2 separate regions of the Homo sapiens genome follow, and region 2 is linked to region 1. The links are contacts of gene promoters, found by promoter capture Hi-C in human tissues and cell types (Jung and others, 2019). All regions are on one chromosome and are shown on one strand. Each heading gives the region's core, a stretch centred on a gene start or on the middle of the fragment in contact. The rest is flanking DNA. Distances are from core to core; before and after follow the strand shown. Region 1 holds the start of JAK2 (Janus kinase 2). Region 2 has its middle 13 kb from the start of SLC1A1.

The links. The method cuts DNA at HindIII sites, captures the fragments that hold promoters and counts their contacts. A contact is called where the count stands out against the background at its distance.
Region 2: a contact is called between a fragment that was not itself captured here and the fragment with the promoter of JAK2 in region 1, in 1 of the 25 tissues and cell types used here (aorta).

The regions. Positions count from the first base shown.
Region 1 is chr9:4,981,428-4,988,133 of GRCh38, reverse strand. JAK2 (Janus kinase 2) reads right to left here and starts at 2,862. Exons shown (of 25, transcript NM_004972.4): 1 at 2,504-2,862; 2 at 2,112-2,194. RefSeq lists enhancers at 2,060-2,109, 2,910-3,049, 2,978-3,811 and silencers at 2,440-2,769, 3,160-3,239, 3,280-3,329, 4,780-4,909. The HindIII fragment of the contact is 10,820 bases long and covers 308-6,706 here.
Region 2 is chr9:4,474,336-4,481,041 of GRCh38, reverse strand. It overlaps a transcript of GLIS3 not described here. Among named protein-coding and RNA genes, the nearest start is that of SLC1A1, 13 kb to the left of the region's middle. The HindIII fragment of the contact is 4,442 bases long and covers 884-5,325 here.

The DNA of each region.
Region 1 (6,706 bases), core at 1,613-4,112:
GCAAAAGAAAGGTCTTAGCACAGTTAACCACAAGGGGGCAGCACAATAATTGGTAGGGGCAACACAATGGGGGTTTAAGCAGAGACACAAAGTCAAACCTTTCCATACAAAGGCTGTAATACTCCCTCACCAGTTTAAGACCTTGAAGTCCTTTATCTCTTTATACTAGAAAGGAGGAAACACGAGTTACAGGCAGATCACCTTATGCAGTCATTCTGCCCTTCTCTGAATCTCCTTTGCCTCCCAGCCGTGATAGTAGCCAAGACTTTTATGACAGCCAGGCAGTTTACCACTTTGCATGTGTCTTACTCACTTCTCACAACAATCTTATAAGAAAGTGAAGCTAAAAGAGTCGTAAATAATATAACTCTTTTTTTCTTTCTTTTTTTTTTTTTTTTTAGACAGAGTCTTGCTGTGTTGCCCAGCCTGGAGTGCAGTGGTGAGATCTCGGCTCACTGCAACCACCACTTCCCAGGTTCAAGCAATTCTCCTGCCTCACCCTCCCGAGTAGCTGGGATTACAGGTGTGCACCACCACGCCCGGCTAATTTTTGTATTTTTAGTAGAGATGGGGTTTCACCATGTTGGCCAGGCTGGTCTCAAGCTCCTCACCTCAAGTGATCCTCCTTCCTCAGCCTCCCAAAGTGCTGGGATTACAGGCGTGAGCCACCATGACCAGCCGTAAATAATGCAACTCTTAAGTGGCAAGAACACCAGGATTCAAATCCAGATCTCACTCCAAAGCCAATGCACTTTCCTATTCTGCCTCAAAAGCATCCCACCTTTCAGTAATAGCCAGGTGAAAGAGAAACAATGTCATATTCCCTTCCCATATCTGAGACACCTGTCTCAAATCACCAAAGGCACACACACACAAAATTCCCTAATGAGTCCCTAAAACTGCTATAAATTGCAAATACAGGATATTCAGTTAGAGCAAAAACAAGCATGGTGTGCTCTTCTGGCCAGCAAGTACTGCAGCTTTCCTATTCAGGTAAATACATGTACTATTAAGGCAAGTGCTGGATACATCCAGTCTGTACATACGTTACACACCAACAGACAAATGCATGTACAAGCAAATAATTCTCACACTTAAAGTGGTATAAGGTGAGGCGGATGGGGGAAGGGAGGCCAAAAATTGATTATTCATCTTCAAATGTTCTGGGTGTTATATCAAAATACAAGCTGATCATCCCTTATCTGAAAAGCTGCAAAATCTGAAACATTTTGAGCACCAACATGATGCTACAAGGGGAAAATTCCCCGCATAGGTACTTAATACAAACTTTGTTTCATGCACAGACGTATTAAAAATATTGCAAATGACTTAGTGGCTGTGTGAATAAGGTCTATATGAAACAAACGAATTTCGTATTTACACTTGGGTCCCATCCTCAAGATGTCTGATTTTGTATATGCAAACATTCCAAAATTTTTAAAAAAAATCCAAAACACTTTTGGTCCCAAGCATTCTGGAGAAGGGATACAAAATCTTTATTTGCAGTAGCCCAACAACTCACTGTACAAACTTATTATGAAACCAAAAGCAATCATTTCCCTTATTCCCACTTCCAGTTTCCTTCTCCATACTCAGCCGCTCCTACCCTTTCATTCAGAGAAATGGAGTTTCTCCTAACAGATTAGTAATTACTGGAAAACAAACTGGGTAAATTCAACCGACACAGCAAGCTTAGGCAGATAAAACCATGAGGAAACATTCAATGTGGTAGCAGAAACCCCAGCAAGAATAGCTAACGTGTTCTCCCAAAAGCTATCTCTTATTGCTTGGAAATACTCCTCTTTAAAGGATTAAGAATCTCTGGCTGCTTAAGAAGAAAGGGTAATGGACAACGTTTTTCGTTTCTCTGCAAAGTCACGTTATGTGTAAAGCCAACAAAAAAATGTTTCTTAAAGGATCCAAGACGAACAACAAAACACCCCAAAATTACTCTCCCAGATCAACATTAAAAGTTTAGCACTGACATTTTCAGAAGAGTAAGCAACAATGAGCCCTGCCTCTCTTCACACGCTTCCAACCTTCCCTACGCACGCACTCCCAGCTCCAGACACCTTCGCCTTTACTGCAGCGATAAAGGACAGCACACCCACCGTCGCGGGAGGAGGAGGAAGAGCCTCTTTTTCTGCAGAAGAGAAACAGTTCACATCTTGTTCCTGTTGCCTGCTTCTGAAACCTAAAAACAGAAGCAGCAGTTAACTACTACCACATAAATCCAGGGGAAACAAATGCTTTTTCTAGGCTGTTTAAGTGTCTAGAAAATTTTAAAAAGGAATAAGGAGGCGGGAGCGAGGGAATTATAAGACACAAATGGAAGCAAATATCACCAGCAAGACTCGTTCTAGGTGTCGTCTTAAAGAGGAAGATTTTTCTGGCTCAGAAGTTTGCTGCCACTAGCAGGGGGCAGGCGGGACCAAAAGGTAGGAAGGGGGTGGAGAGACAGCTGCTGCCCCCCACCCAGAAGCCAGGCAGAGATAACACCCACCGGCTACACAGATCGGGCGACCAGAGCGCGCCCTCGAGCCCGCAGGGGCGGCTCCTACCCGGCGGGTCAAGGTCTGCGAAGCCCCGGGACGGGCACGGCTCTGAACGACCTCCAGGCTGGGCCCTCGGGGGCCCTCCAGTGTGGGCTCAGCTCCCACTCACATCCCTCGGCAGCGAGGACCAGGCCTCTCCCTGCGCCGCAGCAGCCCTCAGCCCCGACGCGCGCCGCAAGCCCGGGCCGAGGGGCCCGACCGGCCGAGAAGCCGAAGTGGCGACGCGAACACCCAAGCGAGCCGGGCGCCGGCCCAGCCTGTCAGCGCCGAGGGAGGCCGTTAGCGGCGTCCGCTGCTGCCCCCTTCTGCTCCTCTTCCTCTCTCCTTCCTGCAGCCCCACACCACTCCCACTTCGGGCAGCCGGGAAGCCCGTCACAGTTGTCTCCACCCTCTCCGGGGCCACACCGTCTTCTCAACGCCGCGGGCGACACTGGCTTCGCCGCCCTGCTAGCTTCGAACTCAGCCTCCCGGTTGGCCTGCAGTCTCCCCGAATGGCAGGAGACCGGGCCGGATAGAGGCTGGGGGAGAGCCGGACGCGCGTCCTGCAGTGCGCGTGCGCCGCTCGGTGCTGGTCGCGGGACCGGCAGGCGCGGGCCACGCAGGGCAGCTGCCTCTCGGGAAGCCGGCGAGCGCGCGTGGAGATTCCTGGGACGGCCCCTGGGCGTGAGCGCGCAAGGAAGTTAAGGCGGCGGCGCCTCGCGAAACGCTGGTGCCCGGCTGGAGCTAGGCGCCAGCGCTGGGCCCGGCCCTCACTAGATGGGCGGGTGTGTGTGTGGCCGCCGCCCTCCAGGGAAGCGGCCGGGAGTGACTCACCCTGGCTGGCTCCCCAGCGCGCAGCCTGCACTGGAGGAGGCCGGGCTGCCTCCGCGCGGAGACTCCCCTCCCGCACACTTCTCCGCTTTCGGCTTTTCCTTCCACCTCCCGGGTACAGCAGACCCGTCCTTCCCCAGTCCAGGCTGCTAGGCCGAGGGGAAGTGGCGCCGGGGGCCGGGGACAACGCGCTCACACACGCTGTTTCGTGGCAATGCGCCCTCGAGAGCCTGACTCCCATCAGCCACCTTGGCTGGAAAGGGGTGAGGGTGGGATGAAGCGCCCAGCCGCCTGCGGGTTGGCAACAAGGCCTAGCGAATGTTTCTCCTAGAGGAGAAACAACTTTACCGGCGTGGCCTGGTGTAGCCCGGGAGAGGGTGGAGACAACGGCTGTGACGGGCTTCCCGGCTGCCAAAGGGCCTCATTCATTCATTCAAATATTTACTGAGTGTCTACTAGGTGCCGGGCTGTAGGTCCCCAGAGATACCAGGTGAACACGACCCCACACACTCCTTGCCCTACTGGATTGTATTCTGATGGAAGCGACAAAACAACAAACAACGCTTTAAATGCATAATGTGCGGGGTGTGTAATTGCCACTAAGAAAATGCATAGTTTTCTGCTGCCATATACATAATAACAAAGAAAAGGAGTAGAAAGTGAGGAGGGGGTGTGCTATTTTACGGTGGCCAGGAACGATTTCCTAGAATAAGTGACATTTGAGCAGAGATCTGAAGGATGAGAATGAACCAGTCCCATGACTATCTGGGAAAAGAATTTCAGGCAGAGGGACTCCTGAAGGCAAAGACCTTGAGAAGGGAAAGTGTTTGGCAAGTTCAAGGATCAGGAAAGAGGTCACTGTGGCTGGAGGACACGGAAGGAGGGGGCAGTGGTAAGAGGTGAGGCCAAAGAAGTAGCCTGGCACCAGATCGTGTAGGGATTTTTTTCAAGTATTAGCCCTCTTTCTGTCAACCTAAATGAAGTGACGCATTCATAGCTCCTGTTTCCCCATACACAACTGATGCTGCTCTTCAGGTCTGTCTTGCACTTAATGGTTTCTTTAAATAAACCTCACCAAAGCAACTCCTGCATTTCTTCTTACATAAGACCCATTGCAAAAGGTCTTTAAGCAAATGATAGCAGCATAGGAAATTACTTGAATTCACCCTGAATCTTTTAAATAATGAACTAGAGCTGTATAAGAGGGAGGGATTTACAGGAAAATTGCATTCCTACGGCTACTGCTTCATAGGTAATATATGGGCAAAGTTAGTAAGAATTTCTAATTATTAATTGTGACTCAATGGCTTAGAATATCAAGGCCGCAATTACAAACAGTGACTACCAAAAGAGTTCCTTTTTTCCTGCAAACAAAAACTGCTACTGAGGTAAAAGCTAGAACACAGACCCACATAATGAAGAAGAGCTAAAGATGAGCTTAACGTCATGGGTAAATGAAAAGCATCACAACTGTGGAAATGGAAATGTGATATTTTGTGAGGGGAAGAAAATGCTTGTTTTAGAACTCTGAAACAGTATTACTTTCATTATAAGTGATGTTTCTATATTTTGCAGTGATATACTTATGTAACTAGGCATGGTATCTCTTACTGTCCACAGCCTGTTTGCAGGGAGAAGCCATTTGAAATTGGTGAATTGCAGGGAGAAGCCATTTGGAAGTGGTGAATATTGAGGATATTTTTGTGGGGGAGCAGGTTATTTTCTTAATATTAGAGATGTGGGTATGGAAGACAAGGTGGACAAGGGGTATATTATTCATAAGCCTATAGAATTGAGAAATCTTCTGTCTCCCCACATAGAAAGATGAAGCAACTTGCCTCCTGTCATTCAGAAAGTGAAAGCCTCCCTCATCACTAAGACATGATTTTAAGTCAATGCTAACCTGGAATGTTGAGCTTTTTTCACTCTGTATTAACAGAACTTTTGAGCTCTTTATGTGATTCCTGGTAGTGGCATCACTAGAAATTTGCTACTCAAGGCAAACATTTCAGGAAATTTCCCTTATTCTTTGATAATGATGAAAAGAATTCCAAGGAATTTGACCAAGTCTTTCAAAACATTCATACAATATGAAGAAACAAGAAATATGAGCTGTAAGGTAACACATTTAGATTCAAAACTTTGTGGCAAGATCTAATGGGAAAACTTAACAGCTAGTTGTTGACTGTGGGGCTGTGTGTAGTGTCTTGAGGTTTTGTCCTTCCAGTGTTGGCCAGCATGGCAGCAGTGATTCTTGACTGCTATGCCCAAACCTTCCCCCCACCCCAACAAGACTGCCTCAGTAAGTGTGAGATGGCGCATTGGCTTCTATAACTTTTTAACATTTTTAGGTGGTTTGACATAAAGCCACGGTTGAAAATCCATGGCCAAGGGTTTAAGAACTTACGCTTTAAGAGTCCAGACCACCCAGGTTTCTTTCAATCACAGCTTTTGCCAGGAAAGTTTATTTAGATTTTCTAAGCCTCTGTTTCCTCATCAGTATAATGAGGATAATAATCTCCCCTGTAGAGAGATTTTGAAGATTAGGTGAAAAAGTATTTTAAAACCCTTAGCACAGTTATCAAATGTCTATTATATCTGTGGCAGGACCAATTTACAGATATAACCAAGCTGGGAGGTATAAGAAATTTGTTGAATTTTATTAGGAAGATTGAAGTATTTGTCACAGTTTATTGCACTACACAGGACTGTGTGGGCTGGTAGGATAAGGGCTGAGTTGTAATAGAGATAAATGTGAAGATCTCCATTTGAATTTTAAAAAACAGAACTATATCATTAAATGATGAGACTGAAAACATCATTCTTAAGGAGGGACATAAATGTGAGCACAAAAAAAGATGCAGGAAAGTCCTTGGAAAGGGAAACAGGCTCAAACGAAGGGCTGGGGAGAAGTCCAGGAGTTAGTTTGTTTCTTTCCAAAACAGGGAAGATGTACTTTCCTGAAGGCAGAAAGGAATAAAATATGGAAAGAGGCTTATTTATTCCAAATGTAGGATTATAAGCCAAAAGACAAAGGCAAGGGGTATTAATCAAGTAGACAGACAAGCAAGCAATGTTTTTTTTACTACAAATCATCCAGATATTTTAGTACCATTTATTCCAAAATTTGGTTGGCTATGGCAAAGAAATTTTCCAATACCTCCTCGGTACTTCAGCATGTCCTTGTCTCTACATCAGTTCCCTTATCCTTACTTTCAATCACAAAAAGAAAAGGAAAACAAAAAAGATATTGCCAGTGAACAGATCCCTCATTCCCTTGAGATAACTGGATGTATTAAACTTTGGTGCTTGAAAACCAAAACAGTTTTCCCTTTGTAAGC
Region 2 (6,706 bases), core at 1,855-4,354, 510 kb after region 1:
TCTACAAAAAATACAAAAAATTAGCCAGGTGTGGTGGTGCTTGCCCATGGCCCCAGCTACTCTGGAGGCTGAGGTGGGAGGACCACTTGAACCCCCGAGGTCCGGACCTCCAGTAAGCTGAGATCAAGCTACTGTACTCTAGCCTCAGCAACAGAGCAATACCTGTCTCAGAAAAAAAACCAGTAGGTGGGTTTTTTTTTTTTTTTCAATGAAGGTGTAGTAATTTATTACTTGTATACTTGAAAATATAAAATTTACAATATGCATTCTACAATTCCAATTAAATGTATGTGTGTGTTAAGGGTAATATTAAAATTATTAATGTGCTTTTTTTTCTTTTTGCCTTCCTGAGCACATGCTTTTTGCCCCGGTAGGCCAAGGCGTTCGTATGCTGAGGATATTATGATTTGTTACAGAGGAATTTTGAAAATGTGGTAACGTTCCACTTCTGTATGATATATAGCATTAGGTACAGGAAAGAGGATTATTGAGAAAGAATATGCCATATTCCTCCATTTCTTCATTAGAATATCTAAAGCTTGGCTGGGCATGGTGGCCCATGCCTATAATCCTAGCACTTTGCGAGGCCATAAAGGGAGGATCACTTGAACCTGGACTTCAAGACCAGCCTGAAAAACATAATGAGACACTGACTCTACAAAAAATAAAGTTAGACAGGTGTGATGGCACATGCCTGTAGGCCCAGCTGCTTGGGAGGCTGAGGTGGGAGGGTTATTTGAACTTGGGTAGTCTAGACTGCAGTGAGCTGTGATTATGCCACTGCAGTCCAGCCTGGGCAACACAGTGAGACTTCATCTCAAAAAAAAAAAAAAAAAAAAAAGAAAGCCCAGCCTGGAAAACTTGTCTCACAGAATTCTTCTGTAGTGTAAGAAAGACACGTCTCCACCTATAACATCTGTCACTCTATCACAGCAGGAGGTGAAAACATAGGGAATCAGAAGAAAATATTTTCTGGTCAAGGCCAGGCGCCGTGGCTCACGCCTACAATCCCAGCACTCAGCACTTTGGGAGGCCAAGGTGGGCGGATCACCTGAGGTCGGGAGTTCAAGACCAGCCTGGCTAACATGGCGAAAACCCATCTCTACTGAAAATACAAAAAAAAAAAAAAAAAAAAAAGAAGAAGAAATTATTGTGTGGTCAAGAGAATGATGGGAAGAAGGAAGGGAGACAGGAGAAGCGATGGTGGTCCTGTTTTCTCTCTCTAAGCTTCATCCAGGAAGGAGTGTATGTTAGAAAAAGGAGGGTAGCAGCTCTGTCTCCCACTCCCCAGATAGGGGTCTGCCTCCCAGGTTGCCCCTTCCTAACCTGGGGTGCAGCCACAACCACACCAACACCAACACAGCAAGGCAGTGTGGCCAGGTGGAGAGATACTCTGAGATTTCATTTCCTAACCACCCTTGGTAACTGGAGGCAGGGGTGCTGACTTGAGAGCCACAGTATGGTCATGGGCTGGGTGAGTGACCCTCCTTAGAGTCTAGGGAACCTCTGTGAACTGGCCCAATGTACAGACTTGCATATTTGTTACTAGCAGTAGCTGAAGTGAGGTGTAGGCCTTGAAGTGAGGTGTAGGTAAATGCCCTGAGCCCTAATTGAGCCAAAAGACAGGAAAGAATACATCTTCACAGCTGTAGATTTTATCCACAAAGGCCCACAGGGAATGTTGCAAGCAGGGACATGAAGGACAATGCTCTGGACACCAGGATCTAAATAAGTCCACACATGACATTTGGTTAAGTTGTAAAGTATCTTTTATTCTACAATCTCTCTTATTTATTTGTTAAAGGGACTAGGTTGAGGCCTGGTGCAGTGGCTCATGCCTATAATCCCAGCACTCTAGGAGGCTGAGGCAGGTGGACTGCTCAAGCCCAGTAGTTTGACACCAGTCTAGACAAAATGGTGAAATCCTGTCTCTACAAAAAATAATAAAAAATTCTGCAGGAACATTGAAAAATATATATATTTAAAAAAATAAAGGTACTTGGTCGTTTGTCTTACAAAATTCCCCACATTCTGGATTTGGCTAATTCCTTCTTCATAGTGGAAATTAATTTTTTCTCTATCCCCAATATTTCCTATAAGTTGGTAGTTAGATGTAGAGGTTTGCTATTTCATAATGCTAAGATTGAACAGTGGATTCTGATGTCAGCCTGATTCAACTACGATAAATTCACCATCAACCCTTCACATATGGTTTTAGCATCTATTGGTGATGGTGAAGACCTTTAAAAAATTCATTCTAATTCTAACATTTCTTCTGCATATATTTTCTGGAATCAACTATTTGGTTACCCTAAATAGATTTTATACAGAAAAGGCAGGATAAATGCTTAATTTCTTTCCCTTGGTTGGTTTTCTCAATAATGAATTAGTGCACTTGCAACTTCCAAAGGTGACTACTGATGTTTTTTTTTTTTTAGATGGAATCTCTGTCGCCCAGGCTGGAATGCAGTGGCACACTCTAAGCTCACTGCAGCCTCCACCTCCTGGGTTCAAGCGATTTCCGTGCCTCAGCCTCCGGAGTAGCTGGGATTATAGGCGCCCGCCACCAGGCCGAACTAATTTTTGTATTTTTAGTAGAGAGGGGGTTTCACCATGTTGGCCAGACTGGTTTCAAACTCCTGACCTCAAGTGATCTCCCGCCTTGGCCTCCCAAATTGCTGGGATTACATACAGGTCTGAGCCACTGCGCCGGGGCTTTTTATTTTTAAAGTATTAGTACAAACACATGGATTTATATGTGTTTTGGATAGATTTATGTGTTCCAATCAGTTACAATCATGATCCTTTCCCACGCTCAAATCATCCCATCTTTGGCCAATGGGAGCCCCTTCATTCTGGCATCCGTGTTTTTTAAACAACCACTTGTTTCAATAGTGTCTTTGTTTTCTGACTCAGCAAGATGTCCCAAGACCATCTTGTATATTTTTTGCCCTGAAACTGGAATCAGTTATTTCTCTAAAGCGTTCAGGTTCCGGTTCATGGGAAATAGTATTCAGGAGCTACAGTCTTGGTAATCGTGGCTCATTGCTATGTTGTTTCTGGGCCTTTTCAGTGGACAAGGCTTAGAAATATGTATTTCATAGCAAGAGACAAATGATAAGTTCATATTATTGTTTCCAATTTCATTTTTTATTATGGTATAATATACATAATGAATTTTACCATTTTAATTTTACCATGTTTTTAAGTGTACAGTTTGGTGGCATTAAGTACATTCATATTACTCTGCAGCCGTCACCACTATCCATCTCCAGAACATTTTTACCTTCCCAGACTGAAACTCTGAACCCATTAAACACTAACCTCTAGCCAGGAGTGGTGGCTCATGCCTGTAATCCCAGCACTTTGGGAGGCCCAGGCGGGAGGATCGCTTGAGCTCAGGAGTTCAAAACCAGCTTGGGCAACATAGGGAGACCTTATCTCTACAAAAAATACAAAAATTAGCTGGGTGTGGTGTGCACATCTGCAGTCCCAGCTACTCCAGAGACCGAGGGGGGAGGATCACTTGAGCCTGGGAGGTTGAGGCTGCAGTGAGCCGTGATCACGCCATTGCATTACAACCTGGGTGACAAAGAGAGACCCCTATCTCAAAAAAAAACCCAGCCCCCCCAAAACACACTAATGTCCTATTCCCCACCTCCCACCCCCACCCCACTCTAACTCCCAGCAAACACCATCCTACTTCTGTATCTATGAATATTTGTTCTTTTGTGAGTGGCTAATTTCAATTTGCATCATGTCGTTTAGGTTCACACATGTTGAAACTCGTGTCAGAATTTCCTTCCTTTGTAAGGCTAAGATTGCATTGTATGTATTTACCACATTTTTGTTTATCCATCCATTGGTGGATGGACACTTGGGTTGCTTCCGCCTTTTGGTTATTGTGAATAATAATGCTGTGAATATGGACGTACAAGTATTTGTTTGAGTCCCTGCTTTAAATTATTTTGGGCATATACCCAGAAGCATAATTACTGGAACATATAGTAATTCTATATTTAATTTTTTGAGGAACTGCCGTACTGTTTTCCATAGCAGGTGTACCATCTTACATCCCACCAGCAATGAACAAGGGTTCCAGTCTCTCCACATCCTCACCAATATTTGTTATTATATTTTCTAGTTTTTAAAATTCTGTCTAAAAACAGCTATTCTAACAGAGATGAATCAATTCAAATTTAAGCTTTTAGGATTGTGGCTACACTTTAGAAATTTTTATTCTTATTTCTTTTCTCTTTTCCTTGAAAATCTTGGTTCTTAAAAACATTAATTCAAGTACTTATTTCCTAATACTATAATGTACACATAATAGTTAAAAAAAAAACAAGACCCATATTATTTCTAATAATAAGACCACTGGGCCGGGCATGGTGGCTCACGCCTGTAATCCCAGCAATTAGGGAGGCTGAGGTGAGTGGATCACCTGAGGTCAGGAGTTCGAGACCAGCCTGGCTAACATGGTGAAACCCCATCCTTACTAAAAATGCAAAAATTACCTGGGCATGGTGGCAGGCACCTGTAATCCCGGCTACTTGGGAGGCTGAGGCAGGAGGATCGCTTGAACCCAGGAGGCGGAGGTTGCAGTGAGCTGAGATCCTGCCATTGCACTCCAGCCTGGGTGACAAGAGGGAAACTCTGTCTCAAAACAAAAACAAAAACAAAAAAACCCCACTGAATTCAGTTTAAGATTTCTCTGTGGTTCTCATGGTCCCCAGAGATACACCAGTAAAGATATATAATCAAATTACTATATTTAAAAGATACTGTAAAGAATTATTTTCCCTGTGTTATTCCATCAATTTGATATACAGCTATGATTATATTCATTGTATGAATATGATTTTGTTCATCAGTGGATTACATTCATCCCTTTGTTTTCAAATGTCAGAAACTGGTTTTTAAGAATTTCATAATTTTTAAATTATTTAAAACATTTACATAGTTCACTCAAAACTATAAAACAATATAATCAGGCCAGGCATGTTGGCTCACATCTGTAATTCCAGCAATTTGGGAGGCTGAGGAGAGAGTATCACTTGAGCCCGGGAGTTTGAGACCAGCCTGGTTAACATAGCAAGACCCCATCTGTATTTCAAAAAAATAAAACAGACAAACAAGAAACTGGCACAATCAGAGAATTCTCACATTAATATCCAACGACTCTCTTCTTCTACTACCCTCTCTCCCACTGTAGGTAGCGACTAATTATCTATTAGTGTTTGGTTTATTCTTCAGTTGCCTCTTTTTAGAAAATATAAACACACAGTTATATTCATATTCCCCTCCCTTGTACACAAAATGGCAGCTTACAAGCCCTGTTCTGTGCCTCCTTTTTTCATTGAAGAATATATTCTTGTGCTTACTCAATATCATAATACTGAAATCTTCCTCATTCTTTTTCTACTTAATATTTCTCTGTGTAGGTTTATTATAAAGAAATCTTCCTGATTCCTTTGCACTGCTGCAGAATACTACACTGTGTGGGTGTATCCATAGTTTATTTAACAAGTTCACAAGTGATAGAAATCTGGTTTGTTTCCAGTATTTTGCTGTTACAAATAATACCACAAAGAATAGCATAGACCTCACTCAAGAATGCTCTGGTAAACGTTTGCCAACAAGCTCTCTGGAAAAATTAAATGAAATGAAAAACAACCCTGATTGAGCACCTTTTCATAATATTTAATGGGCATTTGGATAGCTCCTCTTCTGTGAAGCATCTGTTCAGCCTCTTCTTACTTTACTATAAGGTTGTCCATCTTATTCTTTCCTCTATGTGAGCCCTTTTCTGGACATATGTATTTCAAATACCCTTTCTCATTATTCACTGTCTTAGTGATTTCTTCTGAATTTGAAAATTTTGGCCAGGTGCGGTGGCTCACGCCTGTAATCCCAGCTACTCAGGAGGCTGAGGAAGGGGAATCACCTGAACCCAGGAGGCAGAGTTTGCAGTGAGCCGAGATCATGCCACTGCACTCTAGCCTGGTCGACAGAGCAAGACTACGTCTCAAAAAAAAAAAAAAAAGAAAAAAAAATTAACATAGTCCAATTTATGAAAAGTTTCCTTTAAGTTTGGAGCAGAGTTCTGTTTAAGAAATATTTGCAAGCCTGGGCGACATAGGGAGCCCCCGTCTCTGTAAAAACTTTTTTAAAAAAATCAGCTGGGTGTGGTGGCAGGTGCATGTAGTCCCAGCTACTCCAGAGGCTGATGTGGGAGGATCACTTGAGACTGGGAGGTTGAGGCTGCAGTGAGCCATGTTCATGCCACTGCACTCCAGCCTGGGTGACAGAACAAGACGCCATCTCAAAAAAAAAAAAAAAAATTGCTTTGGACTTCACATTAAAAGTAAAAAAAGAAAAAATAAAAAAAATAAATATTTGCTTACTCCAAAGGTATGAAGATATTATATGTTTTGTTCTAGAAGCTTTATTATTTTGCTTCTTTCATTTCAATCTAAAATCTATCTGGGATTCATTATTTTGTGTGATATGGATGAAGATTCATTTTTTTCCCTATGGATATCCAATTAATCCAGGAGCATTTATTGAAAAGATCATCCTGTCTCCTCTGCATTGCAACATGACTTTGGCATATGTATATGTGTGCGTCTGTTTCTGAACTTTCTATTTGTGTGTCTGCGTCTAGGGTTTTTGTTGTTGTTTTGTTTGTTTGTTTTTGTAGAGA